Regions from separate parts of the Homo sapiens genome. Here regions 2, 3, 4, 5 and 6 are each linked to region 1. The links are contacts of gene promoters, found by promoter capture Hi-C in blood cells and fetal thymus (Javierre and others, 2016). All regions are on one chromosome and are shown on one strand. Each heading gives the region's core, a stretch centred on a gene start or on the middle of the fragment in contact. The rest is flanking DNA. Distances are from core to core; before and after follow the strand shown. Region 1 holds the start of LRRC8D (leucine rich repeat containing 8 VRAC subunit D). Region 2 holds the start of GTF2B (general transcription factor IIB). Region 3 overlaps KYAT3 (kynurenine aminotransferase 3). Region 4 overlaps KYAT3 (kynurenine aminotransferase 3). Region 5 overlaps KYAT3 (kynurenine aminotransferase 3). Region 6 overlaps GBP7 (guanylate binding protein 7).

Region 1 (3,561 bases), core at 506-3,005:
TGGTGGCACCATCTCAGCTCACTGCAACCTCCGCCTCCCAGGTTCAAGCGATTCTCCTGCCTCAGGCTCCTGAGTAGCTTGGATTACAGGTGCGTGCCAACATGCCCAGATAATTTTTGTGTCTTTAGTAGAGACGGGTTTTCACCATGTTGGTCAGGCTGGTCTCTAACTCCTGACCTCGTGATCCTCTTGCCTCGGCCTCCCAAGGTACCGGGACTACAGGCGTGAGCCACTGCACCCGGCCTATAATTTTTTTTTTTTTTTACAAACAGCAAAACATTCCATATTCATTATAATAGTGGGCTGTTTTCAATAAAAATATCACACCACTAGTTGTTAAGTTTTAAAAGACCTCTCATCTCTTAGATCAGCAAATCTGACACTGATTAGATCACTTACACACACTCCCTGCCCATACACCTCCTTCTTGGCAGTGTGTGGAACAGGAGTGGCTGCTGGCAAGGAGGGTCGGGGAAGGAAAGTGAGAGCAAAAGGGCCGAGGGCTCAGAATCTGGTGGCATCTTGTAACGGGTCTCGGGCAGTCCCTTGAGTGTATTCTGGACCTCTCTGTTCATGTTCCTGTTTGGGCTGCTCTTCTTCACGTCCAATGCCTGAGGGCCAAGTGCTCACCATCCAAGGGTCAATTCTATCAGCTCCTCTCTGAATCCTTTTCTGAAACCCTGGACAATCATTCTCTTTAATGTCTCACTGTCTCTGAACCGACACCTTCCTGAGTACCTGTAACATTTGTGCAGCATGCTTATTAAGAATATTTAGATGCTGGGTAAACGTTGATTGAACATTTGCTGACATGGAGAGATATTGGTAGAAGACAGATTAGACTTCCGATGGTTTACAGAAACACATGGATTCAGATAAAAGAAGATATGAAAGCACTGGGTTGAACCACATATTTTATTACAACCAAATAACTCCAAATATCCCGCCTTAATTTATTTATTGGCCCCTGCCTCTGCTCACCCACAAAAAAGACTGCAAATGAACCCCGATCCTACAACAACAACAACAAAAAACGGTGACATTATCGGGCTGCAAAACCCTCTTAGCATAGAATAATCTTTTCATCTGCCTCTTTCAGATGTAACATATTTTTGACGAAAAGAATGGGATGAAAACGGCGGGCTCAGATAAAAACAAGAACCGACTTTCCAATACAGCTTCAATAACAGACGGAACACATGAAGCTGAGAAACTCTCCATGCCAAGTAGTAGTTGTGTGTGCCCCAAAGCTCAGATAAGTACTTCTCCTTAGAGTTGGAAGGCACTTAAGTGACTTTTTAACGTAATTCAACTCCCCACCCCCAGCGCCAAGTCTTAATATCAGAGTTTTAGTCGACGGGACAGCCTCCTTCGCCCAGGACGGGTGAAGGCTCCTGACCATGCCTCGCAGCTAACTGGCAGCTGCGCCTGCCCGGCACCGAGCCCTGCCCAGGTGGACGCTTGCGAGAGCATTACGGCGATGGTTATGTAGGCTGCCGTTCTTCCCCTCCCAAGCACCTGCTCCGCATCTAGCAGTCGCTCGCCGCCAGTCTCCAACCCCGGGTCCCCTCCCTCGCCACACAGACCCCGTCCGGTCAGGCGCTGCAGGGCCACCGGAGAAAGCGCTCGCAATCACATGGAGGCCCGGGCCCGCCCCATTGGCTGCGGCCGGGCCAGTCGCGGCACTCGCCGGCTGCGGTTGGTCCCAGAGCTGCAGCGCCTGCACGGGCCCGGAGTCCATGTTACGCTTTGTCTAATTCCCCTCGTTACAGAGTCATGTGCTGCTGCTCCCGTCGCCGCTGCTGCCGCTGCCGCTGCCGCCGCCCGTGGTGCCCCGGCTCCTCCGCCGCGCTTCGAGGTGGCAGCCGCGGGCGGGGCCGCGGGAGCAGGGTCCAGGGTGCAGCGCGCCTTCGCCGCCCCGGCGCGTCCCGGTGCAGCCGCCGCCCGCCGCGGGTGATGCCGCCACCTCCGGCCTCAGCATAAGCCGTGGCTTGGCGGCCGAGCTGCACCCCAAGGTTGGTGCGCACCTCTCCCGGCAGGGGCCGGGGGCTGCGAGGGAAGGCGACGCGCAGGTGGAGCCGCGCCGAGCCGGAGCGCGCAACCCTGGCGCAGGCGCCGCGGCCCGAGCTGCGGTTGCGGCCGGGAACTCATTCGGGGACGTCCGGGGGTCGGGAGGAGGTGGCGGCGAGCGGAGTGGGCTCCCGTTTGCTGCCGCCAGGGCCTGGGAGATTGTTCCGCTTTCTGCAGTCTGAGCGTCGGCCGCTTCGGCCCCGGGCGGCCGGCCCTGCGGGAGGGGAGTGCGGCTTCCTGGCTCCTGAACCCCTCGCGCGCGCTCCCTTCTCTCACCTCCCTCCGCCCTATCGGAAAGGCGGGGAGAGCCGGTTTCGGCTCTGCTGGTTCCTCCCGGAGGTGGGTGTTTGGTGTCTGGCCTTGCTGGCCCGGCGTCCAAAGGTGAGCCCTTTAACTTCTCCAGAATCGCCTCCCCTCCGCTTCCTTCCTGTGCAGGGTGGGCTGCGCTGGGAGCCCGGCGGGCGGGGGCGGGGAGGTGAAGGCCCGCGCCCCGCCCCCCGCGCCTGTGGGAGGGAGCTGGGGGCCCGCAGGTGCACCCAGCCGTCCGCGGGCCGTCTCCGGGTTGGGTACCGGTATAATCCGCTTCTAGCTTGTTTGGAGGCGTGGGCTCTTGGGAGCGGGACTTCTGCTCAAATCCTGTCCAGGGGCTTGAAAAGGAGGAGAATTGGGGGTGGTTGCCGGGAGGACCAGCACCTCCAGTTACTGGAGGGTTGATAGGGGCCTTCTCCTTTCCGTCACCCTTTACTAGGGGGTATCCCTTGCAGATAAATGAGATTTTTTGATTTCTTAAAAAGCCAGCTGCAGTGAAGAAGAACTGCTGCAGGTCGAGGGGAAGAGAGGTAGGTCCTTGCTGGAGAGGGAGAGGTGGGCTGTGAGGTTCCAGGAGCACGCACTTGGGGTGTGTGTGGCCGAAAGTATGGAGGTAGGGTTGTGGGAAGGAAACAGCCGAGATGAGAGGGAGGGCGCACTCAGGATGTAGGCGGAGAGATGGGGAATAGGTACTGGGGAGTCCTAGCGGAATGTGGGGCCCAGCTGGAGCCGCTTGGCTTATATTTGGCTCCTCGTTGCCTCGCAGATTTCCTGCTCTTGGATCTTCAAAAATATTTTTTTGTTGGACAAAGAAAACTCTGAGGACATATTTTGGAAGAGCTGATTTCTGGAAACTTTCCTTGGCAGCTTTGATAGTAAAATTCCGTACAGGCAGCGTTTATTGAGCACCTATTACGTGGTTTGTACCGGACTTTGGAAGAGTCTGGACAGGCAGGGAATCCCCGTTTGCAGTAATGATGAGGGCTGTCTACCTTATAAACAAATAAGGGGCCCCTCCCAGTGCCAAGAATGAGAGTGATCAGACCTTCCTCGCCATAGCATCTGGGACCTCTGCTTCTTACAGACCTGTGGGAAGAACCCTGCACCATATCCTGTAAATGGGGTCCTCAGGCAGCATTTATTTTTGCAGTCCAAAAATAGTGACCAAACACCTACTGTCAG
Region 2 (3,561 bases), core at 597-3,096, 930 kb before region 1:
AGAAATATTATATTTAGGCTGGGCGCAGTGGCTCATGCCTGTTACCACAGCACTTTGGTAGGCCAAAGCCGGAGGACTGCTTGGACCCAGGAGTTCAGGACCAGCCTGGGCAATGTAACTAGGCCTTGTCTCCACAAAAATAAAAATTAATAAAATTTAAAAATAAAAAAATTAGCCAGGCACGTGGTGTGTACCTATGGTCCCAGCTACTCAGAAGGCTGAGGTGGGAGGATCACTTGAACTGGGGAGGTCATGGCTGCAGTGAGCCATGATCGTGCCACCTACACTTCAGCCCAGGCCTGTTCCATAAAATAAAAAATACTGCATTTAACTTTCTTTGTTGTCACTGATAGAAAAACTTGAGCAATAACTGCTATGATACATAAATTGCACATATCTAGAAAAAAATTTCAGACTTAAAAAGCCATGATAGAATTAAAAAAAAAAAAAGCCATGGTAGAATTTTAAGTCGTATTTGAGTGATCTGGGGAGCCCAAGTTTTCCATTTACCTACAAGGAGGCCTTACCCGACAGAACAACACCCAGATAGAATGACTGAGCATCCAATCCAAGAATCAGAATCAGTAAACAAGAGTGTCACTGGCTTTATGAGTTCTGTTCAAACAGTATATTAGCTAAAGCTGCCTCCCACCCCAAATTCCTTTTCTAATCATAAAATGTAAGTCTTGGCAGTTACCAGAAAAGGCTATTTTGTAAAAATGGCTTTCACTGTGAAATTAACCAATTCCACAGATGATAGCAGGGTCAGAAAAATAGTGCCAGAGTTCCAGAAGCTGTAGAATTAATTTGATACTTTCAACACAGGATTAGTTAACCAAAGGCCAGGTGTGGATAACAGGAAACAGGTTGTCTTAGACTCTACACTCTAACACGACTCTTGGAAAAGTCAACATTGGCATGACTCAGTTTACACTTATGCAAAAATACTAATATCTACCTCACAGTGGTAATGAGAGACATAATTAGGGTCTGCAAGCATTTTTCAGGTCACAAGATTAAAGGCTGTTTCTGAGGGTACTGCATGCATTTCCTGTAGATATGAGTACACTGCATTCTTAAATATATACTAAAAAGCGACCTCCCAGCACATATAACTAATTTTCTTTGGCAAGATTTTCTTCAGAAGTACACAGGCAACGATATTTGTAAACAAATCCTTTAGCAGGGAACTAATCAACTCTTCCGATGGCTCTAGCTTCCACTTCCGAGGCCCGCTGTGATGGTAACCAACCAGGTTCCATCTGGCTTACCAATGCTGACGTTCCCAACTTCCTAGCTGTCAGATCGATAGGAACCTGAAACTAACTGTTTCCCGTTCCTTTGAAAAGGAGAAATTACGGACCCTCGGGTTGTTTGGGCCGTAGATGAAAAAAACAAGCGGGGGGGGGGGCGCGGGGGAGGAGAGGAGGGAGGGTGGGAAGAAGAGAAAATAAAGGGAGATTGAAATATTGGGAAAAGATACGAGGGCAAGGACTGGGGACACAGTAGCCCACCAGGACCCACATAGGGTGATATCTACATAAGACTCCAGGGCAATAACGTCAACAGCTCGGTAACCCCTGCGACACCCTGACAGTCCTGCCGTCTGGAAGTGCCTTTGTCCCGGCCCGTCGGCCAGTCCCGCCGCTTCTCTCCCATACCCCTAGGCGCTCAGCCCTACGAGGCTGCCCGGAGGCCGCCTAAAAGCCGGCGGCGCTCGCGCCCGCCCCTCAGCTCGCCGGGCTCGGCGGGACATACTAACCGGCTGGTAGACGCCATCTTCACGGCGACTGCGGTGCCCGCAACAAGACACAACAGACACACCGAAAGCAGGAAGCGAATGTGGCGAAGAGACGCGCAGAGATGAGTTTTTATAGACGACTCACCCACGCAGTCGTAGCAGAGCAGGGCTACGGGTCGGGAGAAGGGCCAAGAACAGTGAGATCCCATACGTCACGTGCTTTGCGATTTCTTACGTTCTTACTCCGTTTCTGTAATTTGCTATGTTGCTAAGCGAGTCAACGTAACTACCTAGGAAAAGTCTCATGGGAACCCTGCAAAGGGGCTACAACAGAGCTACTCTCAATCTGACAGTTAAAACACAAAGAAAACCCTGGCTTCGTAGTGGTGCCAAAGCCTGCATCCCTAATAGTTTAACCACCCCTTCCTCTCCCACCTTCTCACGGCTACCTTCTCACGGCCACCACCTACCCCGCCCCCAGCCCCCCACCCCGCGTCAGGCACTCCCATTTGAGCCAGTTCTTACGTGCCCCAAGGGTGATTCTTTCTAAGAAATTTGAAATAAAAGGAGAAACTCACTTAGGTCATCCAGAACAGGTGTCTGTTCAGGATCTGTCATCAGCTAGCATGTTGTCTTCTTAGGCACGTCCTTTATACAGGTCATGTAAGTTTATATAGGTTATGGTATCTTGCCTTGCATACCCTTTTAGAATTGGCAGAAGATGAAACAAAACTACGTGAAACCAATGTGTACACAAGAGGCACGACGATATGGGCCATGCTCTGATCATTTTTTTTTCACGGCCTTTGTAACGTTGGCTGATAGCTACATATAGAAAACTTGCGAGAACATCTAGATATTGCAAAATATCCCTAGATTTATTAATTAGCCAAACTAACGTCAAAATTGTAATACCACTATTACTAACAACAATAACAGTTACCGGTGGAGAGTATTCACGTTCTTGGCGTTTTGAACAAAGAACTGGACACAACGCACAAACTAAGGAAAGAATGAAGGAATAAAGGCAGAGATTTATTGAAAACGAAAAGGTAATACCAGCTCAAGACTCCTTTTGCAGAATTTTCGGGGGTTTAAATACCCTCTAGAGGTTTCCCATTGGTTACATGGTGTACACCCTATGTAAATGAAGTAGTGGCTCCACAATCAGTCTGATTGGTTGTGGAAAGCAACCAATCAGAGGCTAAAGTGAAGTTACAAAGTTACACTCCTATGCAAGCGTCTGATTGGTTGCAGAAAGCAACGAATCAGAGATACTTTCAATTTCACATCTGCCACACGGCTAAAGTGTGTGTGTGTGTGTGTGTGTGTGTGTGTGTGGTTGTGTAGTGGGGAGGGGGTTGCAAAGGGAGTAACGTCTGGTTCTTTTGTTACTTAGGTGTGGAAAGTTGGGGTTTTCCTTTTTTTTTTTTTTTTTTGAGACGGAGTCTTGCTCTGTCGCCCAGGCTGGAGTGCAGTGGCGCGATCTGGGCTCACTGCAAGCTCCGCCTGCCAGGTTCACGCCATTCTCCTGCCTCAGCCTCCCGAGTAGCTGGGACTACAGGAGCCTGCCACCACGCCCGGCTAATTTTGTTTTTGTATTTTTAGTAGAGACGGGGTTTCACCCTGTTAGCCAGGATGGTCTTGATCTCCTGACCTCGTCATCCGCCCGCCTTGGCCTCCCAAAGTGCTGGGATTACAGGCGTGAGCCACCGCGCCCGGCCGGGGTTTTCCATTTGATTTAGTTCTAGGAAATCAGTGTGAATCTGCCTTAGGTTCCCTGCCTTCAGACAGTATTCTCCTGCGGCAACACTTTGCTG
Region 3 (3,561 bases), core at 480-2,979, 870 kb before region 1:
ATTAACATTTTTCCACGAGTGAAGGAAGACCATAAAAAAAATCTTGTTTTCATTATCAGAAAAGCTTTCCTAACCAAAATCCTTTTTGCTCCTATTATCACCACACTAGTTCAAGATCTAAGACCTAAATTAGTATTGCATATAGAATGGATTGACTGAGGAAAGAAATGGAAACTAATTAGGAGCTTAATGTAATATTCTGAGTTTTATCACTGTTCTTTTGATAGTTAATGTCACAATGTGATAAATCGAGTTTCATATCTGGAAAAGTTTGGTTCCAGGAAAGAATTGTTCTTATCTAAAAAGCTAAGTTTCTTTTTATTCAAAAACTACGCAACTAATTTCATTTTTCTGTTTGCCTTTACTGTCAGGAAGTTTAGTCTCAAGTTAATGCTAATTACAATACTATGTGAACCTAGGTGACTGAAATATTTGCTTTCTTTCCCTCCTATGTGTAACTGATTTTTTTTTTTTTTAATTTAAGAGACAGGATCTCACTATGTTGCCCAGGCTGGTCTTGAACTCCCGGGCTCAAGCAATCCTCCCGCCTTGGCCTCCCAAAGTGCTGGGATTACAGGCAGGAGTCACTGTACTGGCCATGTATCATTGATTTTTGATTTAGATACAATCATTTCTATTTATATATTACTGCATAGAAAACTTTTAATATGAGAAGGCTCACATTCCTTTTGGAAGCATATAAAGTACAAATGTTGTTCTTTTAAAAAAATAATAATTCATATGGAAATCTTGGGGATTTATGATTCAAAGGCAAAAATATAAGTGATGACAACTGTGCTAATTTTTTTTATCATTTCATAAAATGAACTGCACATTTAGACTCAATATAGAAAAAGCACTTCCCAAATCTCAGAGTCTAGAACACCTTAAGAGGTTCTATATAAGCATAGAGCTTGGGAGCCTGCTAAATACAGCTCTATGGCAATAGCACTGCAGGAATCTTTGCTTGTCAAAGCCTCTTCTCTCACAACAAATGAAGAAATAAGCTAATGTGAAAGGAAGGAGAGTGTTTCAGTTTGAGCCAAACCTCATGTAATGAATTCTTATGACTGTATGTTGTCTTGGCATCCATTGTGAATATAAGTTGGTCTTTCTTATACCAGAAGCAGGGCTTAGTCACCCTTGACACAATTTCCACTTCTCTTCCTCCTCACAGTTCCTCAATGTAGTTGATTCAGATATCTGCCTGAGACAACCACCTCCTGGCGAGCACCTCACTGTGGTACAGCTAGATACAACCTACTTGACTCGCCCACTGACCCCCACCCTCCTCATGGACTGCCTAGATATGCCACAGTGACCACCTCTCAGTCACAGCCTGACACCATGAGCTTGTGCCTGCTCGCTCTAAACCCATCTGTTAGAAGTCTCTGCAGGAAACCTGCTTGGGTAACACCTTGGGCCCCCAAAAAGGCTTTGGCCCACAGATCCCACTCTCTCTCTGTTCCCCACCTGCTGGTTGAGTGTGTATATCCTGGACCACTCCTCACTTCCCATTGGTCCCGGGAGGCCTGCTGCCTCTTCTGTGTCCCAACTGACCAACACACCGGAACCTAACTCTCCTCCTCCTAGAGAGTGGCTATCTCTGTGGAAATAAACTGGATACAGGTCAGATGAGAGCCACAAGGATGTCTGCCAGTATAAACCAGTTTCCAGGGATGTCTGGTCATGGGTCAGACACTTAACATCAGGCCATCTGCCAGGATAAACAAGTAGCCCATGAAAGGCACACTGCAAACATCCAGGACCTCCCCTGGAGCCCCATCAGGGAACAGCTAGAGTTTACAGCCACTTTCCAGAGAGACAGACCTGAAGACCAAATTATAGGAAAATCATAACACCTTACTTTTCTGAAATTTGCTAAGATGATAATGAACTATTACAAGTAAAAATTGCTAGCATCAAATGCTTATAGTAAGAAAGAACTCAGCCAGTGGCTCATGCCTGTAATCCCAGCACTTTGGGAGGCTGAGGCAGGTGGATCACTCATTAAGCTCAGGAATTCATGACCAGCCTGGGAAATGTGGCAAAACCTCGTCTCTAAAAAAAATTTAAAAATTAGCTAGGTGTGGTGGTGCATGCCTGTGGTCCCAGCTACTCAGGAGACTCAGGTGGCAGGATGGCTTGAGCCCAGGAGGCAGAGGTTGCAGTGAGCTGAGATCACGCCACTGCACTCCAGCCTGGGTGACAGGGCCAGACCCTGCCTCAAACAAAACAAAACAAAACAAAACAAAACAAAACAAAACAAAACAAAACAAACTCCTATGTGAAGGATGTAAAGTTAAAAAATATGATCAATGTTTTGCTATAAAATTGAAAATTTCCTTTACTCTTTCCAGCTTTATACAATTTAGTATAAATAAAACACTTCAGTTTTTCAAGTTCATTGGCATATAACTTCATTGTAATAAAATTTTAAAACATTTAAAACTATATTTAGAATGGCTGTAATTTCTGTCATGATAAATTAGGCTTCAAGGTTTACTATTACTAATTTTTTTAAAAGAAAAGTTATATATGACACATTATCATGCTTCTAACTTTAGATTTGTATGGCATGTCAGAATTACATATAACAGCTTTAGGTAATATAAAAAACAATGCTTTTTGGAAACAGAACTATTTAGAATCTAGCTGTGTGACTTCAGGGAAGCTATTTAAAACTTTCTAAATCTTTTTACCTGCAAAAATGGAGCTAATGTTTTCTTCAAAAGGGTGTTTTGAGTACGTGGCACAAAGTAGACCCTCAATAAGTGTTATTCTCCCATTTATTTTATTTCAGTACATTCTAAAATGGCAAATATTCCCTGATAGCTTCAAAATTTCTAGATATTTTTCTAATGAAATAGTACATTTTGTTAAGTAAAAAGGAAACTACAATTTTACTCAAATGAACACTGAGTATATAATATTATTTCACACACTTGTGTTTTAAAATTACACACCAGAAGAGAGTGATAGCAAATCCTATGTTTAATAGACTAACTAGAACAACACTGACTCCATAACCATTTAACAATGGTCACATTTAAGGTAAAAGGCCTAAAAGTAAAGATAATTATAGAAAATGTAGACATTGCAAAAATCCATCCTTCTCCACAGATAAAATGCTGCTGTGGCTTTGACACCAATCTTTTCTCCATAATTCTGATATAATTTCACACATAAGTTTCCGTATAGTTGAAATAATAAAAGCCTTTACAAACCTAGCAAAGACACATCAGCGATGATGAAGTATCCTCCATCAGGAACTATGGGTTTTAGGCCAACACTTTCAAGTAAACGTACCATCCGATCTCTTTTTACTTCTAACTCTTTTGGCAAAGAATTAAAGTAACATTCTGGGTCATCCATGCGCTTGATGTCAATCCAGAAAGCTTGAGCCAAGGCTTCCTGTTTGTTAAGAATCAAAAAATATGAAAAGGCATATGGCAATGTTATTTATTGCTTAGTTTATTGGTATAATAAATAGAGATGATCTGAGTAAAATTATTGGCAAAGAAGTCACTCAGGAAATAACAGTTGAATTCCTGTGAACCT
Region 4 (3,561 bases), core at 433-2,932, 860 kb before region 1:
TACTATGGGCTAGGCACTGTACTATGTGTTGGGATACAGCAGTGAAAAAGGCAGGCTTTGCCCTTGTGGAGCTAACATCTGAGGGGAAGAGACCTCGGAGACAAACTTGTCCAGGTAGTCTTAATTGGACTCCTTGGTATCTTAGGGAGATCTATAAATAAGCATGCAGTGGGAGTATTTGAAATTACATATAAAATTTCATATATGCATAGATAGATTTACCTGGAGAATGGGACTATCACATTCTCAAAGGGATATTCCAGGCAAAACGATTAAGCATTTCTTCATATTTCAAATCAGAAAATAAAATCTAGAATATAAGTGATGTATAAGCAGTGACAGACAGCAGGCTATGTGGGAAGAGAACACTGTAATGTTCCCTGGTATAAAGTGCTAATTTAAAAGCATTATCTTGAGAGTAAAGATGTTTCTCTCTTCTCAAAAGCACGGTTAATTTTTGTATTTTTAGTAGAGATGGGGTTTCGCCGTGTTGCCCAGGCTGGTCTCAAACTCCTAACCTCAGGTGATCTGCCTCAGCCTCCCAAAGTGCTGGGATTACAGGCCTGAGCCACCACACTCAGCCTCATCTGTGAAGTTCTCAGGGACTAAGACAATCTATCTTTGTAACTCTAGTGGGAAATATAAAGCTTAATACAAGGTGAGAGCACAATAAAGGAAAATAAATTGGAGAGGCAGGGCAGTAGAGTGGGAGAAATATACCTGTTACTCTTCGCCTTGATTTTTTCACTTTTATGATGTGAACAATTCCTCTCTCTCTTTTTTTTTTTTTGAGAATATTTATTGCGTCCTCACTATTTTAGGTGCTGGCAGTAAAGCTATAAAGTTCTCCTAGAACTTATATCCTACTGAGAGAGGCTTATAATGAACGGAGAGACAAATAAGGACATTAGATAATTTCAGATAGTAATAAATGCTATAAAGAAACAATAAATAGGTCAGTATGATAGCAAGTGACATGTATGTGGTTTCAAAATACTAGATAAGTTGATGAAGGAAGAAAGAATAGAGGAAAGAAAGCTAAGGGCTAAGCCTTATAATACTCCCAACAGAGTGCAGAGAAAGAAGCAACAAAGGATTAACAACATCGAAGTATGAGACAAAACTATGTATAGGATTAAAGGAGTTTATGTATATGAAACTGTGAACTTCATTAACATGTTTCCTTAAACATCTTGTCTGGCATAGTGAAGGGAATCAAAGTTGTAAAAGAATAACATAACACAAAGCAGATAGTGGCATCTTTCATAAAAGTGGTATGATAAAGGGTTATGAGAGTTTAAAGAAAGTTAACAATATAGATCAGGATAAATATTCGTTCTGCAGTCCCAGCTTAAGCAATGTCTCTCTGGAGCTTTCCAGACTTAGCAGAGGTGATTGCCTCTTCCTTTTGTCACTACCATAGTGTTCCTCGTAATCCATTTGCAAGTCTGTGTTCTCTACTAGACAGGGAACACCTTCTGCATAGAATCTATCTTTAAAACATCTTCTATCTCACAGTGCTTAGCATATATTGGATCCTCAGTATTTTCTGAATAAATGAAAGAGGCAAAAAGTATTAAAGTAAGGCTATTGGAATGCTAATGGGAAATACGGGTAGAGATGACTGAGGTAGTTGCAAAAGTTGGTCATACCTCACAGTACTAAATCGCAGAAATCATTTTACCTTCCTATTATATTAATACATTCTCAGCTGGGCGTGGTGGCTCACGCCTGTAATCCCAGCACTTTGGGAGGCTGAGGCAGGCGGATCACCTGAGGTCAGGAGTTCGAGACCAGACTGGCCAACATGGCAAAATCCCATCTCTACTAAAAATACAAAAATTAGCTGGGCTTCGTGGCGGGCGCCTGTAATCTCAGCTACTCAGTAGGCTGAGGCACGAGAATCACTTGAACCCGTGAGGTGGAGGTTGCAGTGACCAAGATCGTGCCACTGCACTCCAGCCTGGGCAACAAAGTGGGACTCCATCTCAAAAAAACAAAAACAATCACAAAAACATCCTCACATGGGATGGCTTATACAATTACTGGGCACACAAAGACATTGATCAAAAACTTGTAGACCAAGTTAAGAGTAAAGGTTATTTTAGCAATGAAAACAAAAGATTCTTTTTCCCTGGCAGTGTTAGTCCCTTCCATCTGCCCTTATTTAAATAGGCTATAAAAATAAGAATAAATTATATGCAACAAAATGGATGAATCTCACAGACACAAAAATAAATGAATGGATCTAGACCCAAGAGTATACACTGTATAATTATATTCATATTAAGTAAAAGAGCAGTGAAAACAAGCCTATGGTAATAGAAGACAGAAGAGTACTTACCTCTGGGAGAATATAGACTCTGAAGAGGAACAAAGAAGTTTTCTGGGTACTGGAAATGTATCATATCTTTGTCTGGTTGTAGTTGCACAGAAATTTACACAGTAATTTATCCAGCTGTACATTTAAGATTTGTGAACTTTACTGTACATGCATTATACTTAAAACATAATTAAAAATAAAAAGAGAAAAGAGTAGAATATAAGCGAAAGATTCAAAGGTGGGACAAATGATAATTGATTAATATGGGTATTACGATAATGTTAATATACTTACTTCATCTCCCTCATCAATTAATGCTTGAATGGTGTTAAAAAGAGATCCATATGCTCCTACTGTCACAAGGATTTCTTTATTTGAATCAATTTGCTTTTGATAAAGCTTTTCATACAGATAGGACAGAGCTTTCACAAGTGATGGATGGCCCTGTTGGATTAAAAATAAGAACAAAACCTTGAATTTAAATATGGGACCTACTGTTTGAGGTAATATGGCTCTAAAATGTAAGAATTTTTAAAATTTGGATTTGATGTTTATAATTACCCCAAGAAAATTTATATTTTTTAATGGCAATAAATTTTTTAAAATTTCCTACATTTAGAGTATTCCCACACTATTTGTCATGAAGGCTTGCTAATGATTAAAACTTCTTACTAAATAAAGGGTTTGGGATTATATAATTTCAAAGTATTTGCTTTGAATAAAAATCAACCATTTGTATTTTTTGACAGTAATTAAATCATATTGAAAAGAGTTGGATTTGTTTCCCAGTTAAAATAAGTGAAAAAAACCCACTTTAACTGTATACCCACTCCTTGGCTCTTCCTGATTGCTGGAGAGATGGTTATGCCAACCAATGGACTAGGGAAAGAGAACAAAAACAAATTCACCAACGACACGAACACTAGTGTTGATGTGATAGCAAATGTTAGAAGGAAGTGAGACACTACTCACACTGACAGTCAAGAGAGCAGTGGTTATCCAAGGTAACTACTTTCATAGGAGAAGTGAAGGGATTATGAAGGTACAGCCTGAGGCAAGCAGGGGGTCTGAAGACTCCTGGATTAGCTCTCCCTAAGTTCTCTTCTAGGCTCTCTCCCCTTCCTTCCTTTTTTTTCTTCCTTTTCCTTTCCCCCTCCTTGTTTTATTTGGTATTTAGGTCAATATTTCCTGTTGTTTTCTGTCCAGCATCTACCTCCTCATTTTGCTTTTGAAGTACC
Region 5 (3,561 bases), core at 494-2,993, 830 kb before region 1:
TCATGATTTAACCTTTTTCTGAAAATTATATTTTAACAATTACTTCAGAGAAACAAGCTTATTGGAAACAAGGCTTTCTCTAAATCTGAAAGCTGATAACAGCTAAATACATGGCTGGAATGCCAGAAATGGAGTCAGGCCAAGTGGAGAACAAAAAGCCTGGTTTATTCTCTCAAAAAAAATTGGGTTCAAGCCAAGACCTTGGAAGAGTGAGTAAGTGAAGGGAGTGCGTGAGTATTGTCCTCACCCATATCAATAGGCCTGGGGCCCTTCTGCCTGCCTACACTGTGTAATCTCAGCTCCCCCAATCACAGCTATAAATCAGAGTTGGACAGTCAGGCTGAACCAATCAAGACAACTAGAAGTTTGGGTTTGAGGCTGAGAAACAGGCTGTTTCTTCTGGGCACATGAAACAGAAGATTGGTAAGTTTGAATCTGGGCAAGTCTGTGTTCAATCCCTCACACACATGCCATGTTCTGTGCCAAAAACACACCTACGTTCCAAGTATATTGTTCAAGGTTGTTTAATGCAAAGAGCTTTCAAGCCAGATAGATCTTAGTTCAAAATTAAACATCAAAACTCCTAGTGTGTGAAGTAGGCAGGTTACCTGACATCTCTGAAATTCAGTTTCCTTATTTGCTAAGCAGGAAAATGAATACCTGCCCCATGTAAGTGCTATGGCAATTAAATGAGGCAAAGCCATAAGCAGAAAAATATAGTTCATGGCATACAATATATATACTCCAAAACTAGTGCCCACTCAGAAAGTAGGAAAGATTCTCTTAGATACAAGTAAGGATGAGTAACTTTGCACTAAAGGAGGCAAAGAGATATTGGGTATGGACTAAATGTACAAAAGGTGATACTTTCACATCAAAAGAGAGGGTTGGGCTGGACGCAGTGACTCATGCCTGTAATCTCAGCACTTTGGGAGGCTGAGGAGGGTGGATCACTTGAGCCCAGTAGTTTGAGACCAGCCTGGCCAACATGGCAAAACCCCGTCTCTACAAAAAATACAAATATTGGCCGGGAGTGGTGGCGGGCACCTATAGTCCCAGCTACTCAGGAGGCTGAGGCAGGAGAATTGCTTGAACCCGAGAGGCGGAGGCTGCAGTGAGCCGAGATTGCGCCATTGCACTCCAGCCTGGGCGGCAAGAGTGAGAGACTGTATGAAAAAAAAAAAAGAGAGAGAGAGAGAGACAGAGAGAGTTGATTTCCTTAAGGAAGGACAGACCTAAGGAAAAGGTTTTGTCCAGTGTTGCTTTTGCGCTTCTCTGGTGGACATTTAAATTTTAGACTCTCTTAAAAAAAAAAAAATTAATAGACTATTTTAGGGCCAGGCGCGGTGGCTCACGCCTGTAATCCCAGCACTTTGGGAGGCCGAGGCAGGTGGATCACAAGGTCAGGAGATTGAGACCATCCTGGACTACAGGTGTGTGCCCAGCTAATGTTTTGTATGTTTAATAGAGATGAGGTTTTGCCATGTTGCCCAGGCTGGTCTTGAACTCCTGGTCTCAAGCGATCCACTGGCCTCAGCCTCCCAAAGTGCTGGGATTGCAGGTGTTAGCCACTGCGCCCCGCCTACATTTTTCCTTTAGCATTCAAAACATTCTTTAAAATTAGAGAATATGTAAAATGTTTTTGTAAAAAAGCAAGTAATACAGGAAAATACAGCCTATCCTTCATTCTATTCCCTTCCCGGCAGATTTTCATGACATTAAGGATGATGTGGATGAAACGAATATTCTAAGTAAGTTCACAGTAACTTATCTGGCTGGTTCTGACAAGTCTTTCTTGATTTAAACTTATCACTATTGCTTTTGTAACACTGGCCAGTGTTTTTCATTCGTCCAGCAATAGGAAGAATATTTATCTTTATCCCTGTGCGACTATTTTAAATGCAAAGCCTCTGATGAACTGTAGACACTTTTCCAATGTAGTTAAAATGATACAAACACTTTGGCAGTTACTTAATTAAACATAAAGCTACCACACAACCCAACCATTCCACTGCTAGGTATGGAGAGGGGTTAGTGCTATCCCAAATAGTCCACAAGTTTGAATAATGCATTGTCAGTGGTTTTTGCCTGGGACATACATCAGAATCAGCTGGAAAGATTTTTCAAAATACATTCCAGATATGTAGAATTAGAATGCATAATGGTGAGCCCTGGCATACGTAGTCTAATAAAAGTTCCACAAATGAGGATTGTGCACACAAATGCCCTTTTAGTGCCATGGTTTCATATGTTCACCTTGGGGAAGCACAACCACTTCCCTGGCTTCAACCGACTTCTATGTTGGGAGAGGGCCTGAAAAAGGTGGTCACGGTGGCATAAAGAGGAGAGAATTCAAGACAGTTATGAGGTAGAATTCATAAGATTTACATATAGAAGACACTGATGATGGTTTTTATGAAAATTTTAAACCACTGAGAAAATTTTAAACCAGTTGAGAGATTAGAATTAGGTTGAATACAAAATTGTCAATATTCAACCAGTTATGACAAAAATGGTACTTCATATGCCAAAAATGGAATTTTCATACAAAAATAGCAATTTCATATACTTTAACCTAATATAAAACACTCATATGCACACTACCCAGATTCAGTAATTCTCAAGATTTTGCCTCTTTTTTTCTGTAATTGCTGAGTAACTTTAGAATAAATCTTAGACCTTAGGTCATTACATCCCTACATACTTGGCATATTATCTAAAAAATATTGCTACTTATATAACTGCAATTTCATTACCACACCTCACCAACAATAATTTCTTGTTAACATCTAATACCCAGTCCACATTCGTATCTCTCTGATTGTCTTTAAAAAATGTCTTTCTGCATTTTGGTTGACTGAATCAAGTTCCTAAAGCAGATGTACGTATTGTATTTGGTGGTTATGGGTTTTAAACCTTTTTCGATCCCTGAGCAGTCCTCCTGAAATATCCTCTTCTACTTTTTTCCCATGCCACTGGACCTATATTCATAACTTGAAGGGTTTTGTGAAGACAAAATGAGGTAATGAATATATAATGACCAGCACATGGCCTGATCCACAGACAGGCAAGCAGTTGCTCAGTGAATGTCAATTCTAGTCAATGACAAGAGACACCTTCAGCATATGTAATAGAAATGTTCATTTCAATAAAGTATTTGTAAAAAAGCATCTGAAAAATTACATATTTTTTGGACAGTGCAGAATATGTACAATAATTTATCTGTAAGTAAGCAATACCTACAGCAGAAGTAGAGAATCCGAGGATTTTGGAAGAAGAAATTGTCTTCAGGAATTTTGCTCTACCGCTAAGAGAGCAGAGGCTCCTCTGGGCCAAAAACATGCTATTAAATAAAAGAAAAATTGAGAAGAGGAATAAATATATGATGGGTACATCACTATCAGACACTTACAGCTAGCTGATGTATCATAAGCTTACGTAAAATCCAAGTAAACATTTTTGATAAGTGAGTTTGCTTTCTTTCAAGTTTTCTTTCTATGATATAATCTCTCATCACTGGAGGCATTCTAATAAATGTATTCTTCCTACACAAATTTATAT
Region 6 (3,561 bases), core at 315-2,814, 680 kb before region 1:
TTTCAATTCAACGAGAAGACTTAATTATACTAAATATGTATGCACCCAATACTAGAGGACCCTAGATTCATAAAACAAGTTCAAAGAGACCTATGAAGAGACTTAGATAACCACACAATAATAGTTGGAGTCTTCAACACTCCACTGACAATATTAGACAGATCATTGAGGCAAAAAACTAACGAAGATATTCAGGACCTAACTTGACATTTGACCAGATGGACCTAACAGACATCTACAGAACACTCCACCCAACAATAACAGAATATACATTCATCTCATCTGCACATGGCACATACTCTAAAATTGACTCCTTGCTCTGCCATAAAGCAATTCTCAACAAATAAAAAAAAAACCCAAATCATACCAATGCTGTCAGACCACAATGCTGTAAAAATAGAAATCAATACAAAGAATATCTCTCAAAGCTATACAATTACATGAAAATTAATTAATCTGCTTCTGAATGATTTTGGGGTAAACAGTGAATTTAAGGCAGAAATAAATTATTTGAAATTAATGAAAACAAAGATACAACCTACCAGAATCTTTGAGACACAACTAGAGCAGTGTTAAGAGGAATGTTAATAGCACTAAACGACTACAGTAGAAAGTTAGAAATATCTCAAATTAACAATCTAACATTACACCTTGAGGAACTAGAAAAACAAAAGTGAACCAAGCACAAAGCTAGCTGAGACAAGAAATAACCAAAATCAGACTTGAAGTGAATAAAGTGGAGACAAGAAAAACCATACAAAAGATCAATGAAACCAATGGTTCTCTGGAAAAATACATAAGATGGATATACTTCTAGTTAGACTAAAAAAGAACAAAAAAAGAGAAGATCCAAATAAACACAATAAAAAAATGGCAAAAGGGACATTGCTATCAACTCCACAGAAATACAAAAAATCCTGAGAGACTATTATGAACACCACTATGCACACTAACTAAGAAACCTAGAAGAAATGGATAAATTCCTGGAAACATACAACCTACCAAAAGTGAACCAGGAAGAAATTGAAACCTGGAACAGACTAATAACAAGTTCCAAAATTGGGTCAGCATTAAAAAGCCTACCAAGCAGAAAAAGCCCTAGACCAGACAGAGTCATAGTCAGTTCTGCCATACATAGAAAGAAGAGCTGGTACCAATTCTACTAAACTATTCCAAAAAAAATGGGGAGCAGGGAATCTTTCCTAATACATTCTATGAGGCCAGCATCATTCTGATTTTAAAAACCTGGCAGAGACACAACAAAAAAAGAAAAATGCAGGACAATATTCCTGATGAACATGGATGAAAAAATCTTCAACAAAATACTAGCAAACCAAATCCAGCAGCACATTAAAAAGCGAACCCACCACTGTCAATTAGGCTTTATTCCTGGAATGCAAGGTTGATTCAGCATATGCTAATAATAAATTGATTCCTCACACAAACGGGACTCAGAACAAAAACCAGATGATCTTCTCAATGGGCACAGAAAAGGCTTTTGATAAAATTCAATATTTCATGTTAAAATATCTCAACAAACTGGGCCTCAAAGGAACATACCTCAAAATAATAAAAGCCATCTATGAAAAACCCACAGCCAACATCATACTGAATGTGAAAAAGCTGGAAACATTTCACTTGAGAACCAAAAACAGACAAGGATGCCCACTCTCAACAACTCTTATTCAACATAGTACTGGAAGTCCTAGCCAGAGAAATCAGGCAAAGGGGAAAAAAAAAGTTATCCAATAGGAAGAGAGGAAGTCAAACTCTCTCTCTTCATAGACAATAGAATTCTGTAGTTAGAAAACTCCATAATTTCTGCCCAAAGTCTCATCCATCTGATAAACATCAGCAAAGTTTCAGGATAAAAAAGTAAATGTACAAAAATAAGTAGCATTTCTACACACCAATAATGTCCAAGCTGAAAGTCAAACCGAGAACACAATCCTATTCACAATAGCTATTGTGAATAACCAAGAATAAAATACCTAGGTTTACAGCCAATCAGGGAGGTGAAGCATCTCTACAATGAGAATTATAAAACACTGCTGAAAGAAATCTGAGACTGCACAAACAAATGGAAAATTATTTCATGCATATGGATAGGAAGAATCAATGTTGTTAAAATAGCCATACTGCCCAAATTGATTTACATATTCAATGCTATTCCTATCAAATTATCGATGACTTTTTAAAAATAGAATTAGTAAAAACTATTCTAACATCCACATGGAACAACAACAACAAAAAAACCCCGAGTAGCCAAGGCACTCCTAAGCAAAAAGAACAAAGCCAGAGACATCACATGACTTGAGTTTAAACTATATTACAAGACTACAATAACCAAAATAGCATGGTGCTGGTCAAAAAACAAAACAAAACAAAACAGACACATGAACAAATGGAAAAGTTTAAAGAAAGCAGAAATAATACCACACACCTACAACTATCTGATCTTTGGTAAAGCTAACAAAAAAAGCAATGGAGAAAGAATGCATTATTCAATAAATGGTGCTGGGTTAACTGGCTAGCTATATGCAGAAGATTGAAACTGGACCCCTTCTTCTCACTATATACAAAAATCAACTCAAGATGAGTTAAAGATGTAAATGTAAAATTTAAAACTATAAAACCACCAAAAGAAAACCTAGGAAATACCATTCTGGACATAGGCACTGGCAAAGATTTCCTGATGAAAACTTCAAAAGCCACTGCAACCGAACAAAAAGTTAACAAGAGGGACCTAATTCAACTAAAGAGTTCATGCACAACAAAGGAAACTATAAACAGAGTAAACAGACAACCTACAGAATGGGAGAAAATATCTGCAAACTATGCATCTGAAAAAAGTCTAATATCCAGAATCTATAAGGAAGTTAAAGAAATTAAGAACAAAGCAAACAACCCCATTAAAAAATGGGCAATGGACATTAACAGACATTTATCCAAGAAGACATACACATGGCCAGCAAGCATATGAAAAAATGCTCAACACCAAAACAGAGATATAGATCAATGGAACAGAACAGAGCCCTCAGAAATAATGCCACATATCTACAACCATCTGATCTTTGACAAACCTGACAAAAACAAGCAATGGGGAAAGGATTCCCTATTTCATAAATGGTGCTGGGAAAACTGGCTGGCCATATGTAGAAAGCTGAAACTGGATCCCTTCCTTACACCTTATACAAAAATGAATTCAAGATGGATTAAAGACTTAGATGTTAGACCTAAAACCATAAAAACCCTAGAAGAAAACCTAGGCAATATCATTCAGGACATAGGCATGGGCAAGGACTTCATGTCTAAAACACCAAAAGCAATGGCAACAAAAGCCAAAATTGACAAATGGGATTTAATTAAACTAAAGAGCTTCTGCACAGCAAAAGAAACTACCATCAGAGTGAACAGGCAACCTACAAAATGGGAGAAAATTTTTGCAACCTACTCATCTGACAAAGGGCTAATATCCAGAATCTACAATGAACTCAAACAAATTCACAAGAAAAAAACAACCCCATCAAAAAGTGGGTGAAGGATATGAACAGACACTTC

What was found. The method cuts DNA at HindIII sites, captures the fragments that hold promoters and counts their contacts. A CHiCAGO score of 5 or more calls a contact.
Region 2: the fragment with the promoter of GTF2B here is called in contact with the fragment with the promoter of LRRC8D in region 1 in 4 of 17 cell types (activated CD4 T cells, naive CD8 T cells, neutrophils and 1 more); the score reaches 8.0 in activated CD4 T cells.
Region 3: a contact is called between a fragment that was not itself captured here and the fragment with the promoter of LRRC8D in region 1, in 2 of 17 cell types (activated CD4 T cells and naive CD8 T cells). The highest score is 7.1, in activated CD4 T cells.
Region 4: a fragment that was not itself captured here is called in contact with the fragment with the promoter of LRRC8D in region 1 in 6 of 17 cell types (activated CD4 T cells, naive CD8 T cells, total CD8 T cells and 3 more); the score reaches 9.5 in activated CD4 T cells.
Region 5: a fragment that was not itself captured here is called in contact with the fragment with the promoter of LRRC8D in region 1 in 4 of 17 cell types (neutrophils, fetal thymus, total B cells and 1 more); the score reaches 10.5 in neutrophils.
Region 6: a fragment that was not itself captured here is called in contact with the fragment with the promoter of LRRC8D in region 1 in 1 of 17 cell types (neutrophils); the score reaches 5.1 in neutrophils.

Annotation. Positions count from the first base shown.
Region 1 is chr1:89,819,277-89,822,837 of GRCh38, forward strand. It overlaps LRRC8D (leucine rich repeat containing 8 VRAC subunit D), which reads left to right and starts at 1,756. Exons shown (of 3, transcript NM_001134479.2): 1 at 1,756-2,015. It overlaps LRRC8D-DT (LRRC8D divergent transcript), which reads right to left and starts at 2,518. Exons shown (of 1, transcript NR_185885.1): 1 at 898-2,518. RefSeq lists silencers at 1,285-1,344, 1,785-2,134, 2,235-2,334, 2,425-2,634, 2,506-2,725. The HindIII fragment of the contact is 10,555 bases long and covers 1-3,561 here.
Region 2 is chr1:88,889,721-88,893,281 of GRCh38, forward strand. GTF2B (general transcription factor IIB) reads right to left here and starts at 1,847. Exons shown (of 7, transcript NM_001514.6): 1 at 1,763-1,847. The coding sequence starts at 1,779. RefSeq lists an enhancer at 2,023-2,132. The HindIII fragment of the contact is 16,776 bases long and covers 1-3,561 here.
Region 3 is chr1:88,945,864-88,949,424 of GRCh38, forward strand. KYAT3 (kynurenine aminotransferase 3) reads right to left here. Exons shown (of 14, transcript NM_001008661.3): 11 at 3,228-3,414. Among named protein-coding and RNA genes, the nearest start is that of KYAT3, 45 kb to the right of the region's middle. The HindIII fragment of the contact is 3,334 bases long and covers 63-3,396 here.
Region 4 is chr1:88,962,212-88,965,772 of GRCh38, forward strand. It overlaps KYAT3 (kynurenine aminotransferase 3), which reads right to left. Exons shown (of 14, transcript NM_001008661.3): 5 at 2,618-2,767. Among named protein-coding and RNA genes, the nearest start is that of KYAT3, 29 kb to the right of the region's middle. The HindIII fragment of the contact is 2,075 bases long and covers 646-2,720 here.
Region 5 is chr1:88,985,009-88,988,569 of GRCh38, forward strand. It overlaps KYAT3 (kynurenine aminotransferase 3), which reads right to left. Exons shown (of 14, transcript NM_001008661.3): 2 at 3,244-3,343. The coding sequence starts at 3,342. RBMXL1 (RBMX like 1) reads right to left here. Exons shown (of 3, transcript NM_001162536.3): 2 at 3,244-3,343. Among named protein-coding and RNA genes, the nearest start is that of KYAT3, 5.8 kb to the right of the region's middle. The HindIII fragment of the contact is 3,376 bases long and covers 56-3,431 here.
Region 6 is chr1:89,136,089-89,139,649 of GRCh38, forward strand. All of the region lies in intron 9 of GBP7 (guanylate binding protein 7), which reads right to left. The region is part of intron 1 of LOC105378842 (a long non-coding RNA gene); the gene reads left to right. Among named protein-coding and RNA genes, the nearest start is that of GBP2, 12 kb to the left of the region's middle. The HindIII fragment of the contact is 8,826 bases long and covers 1-3,561 here.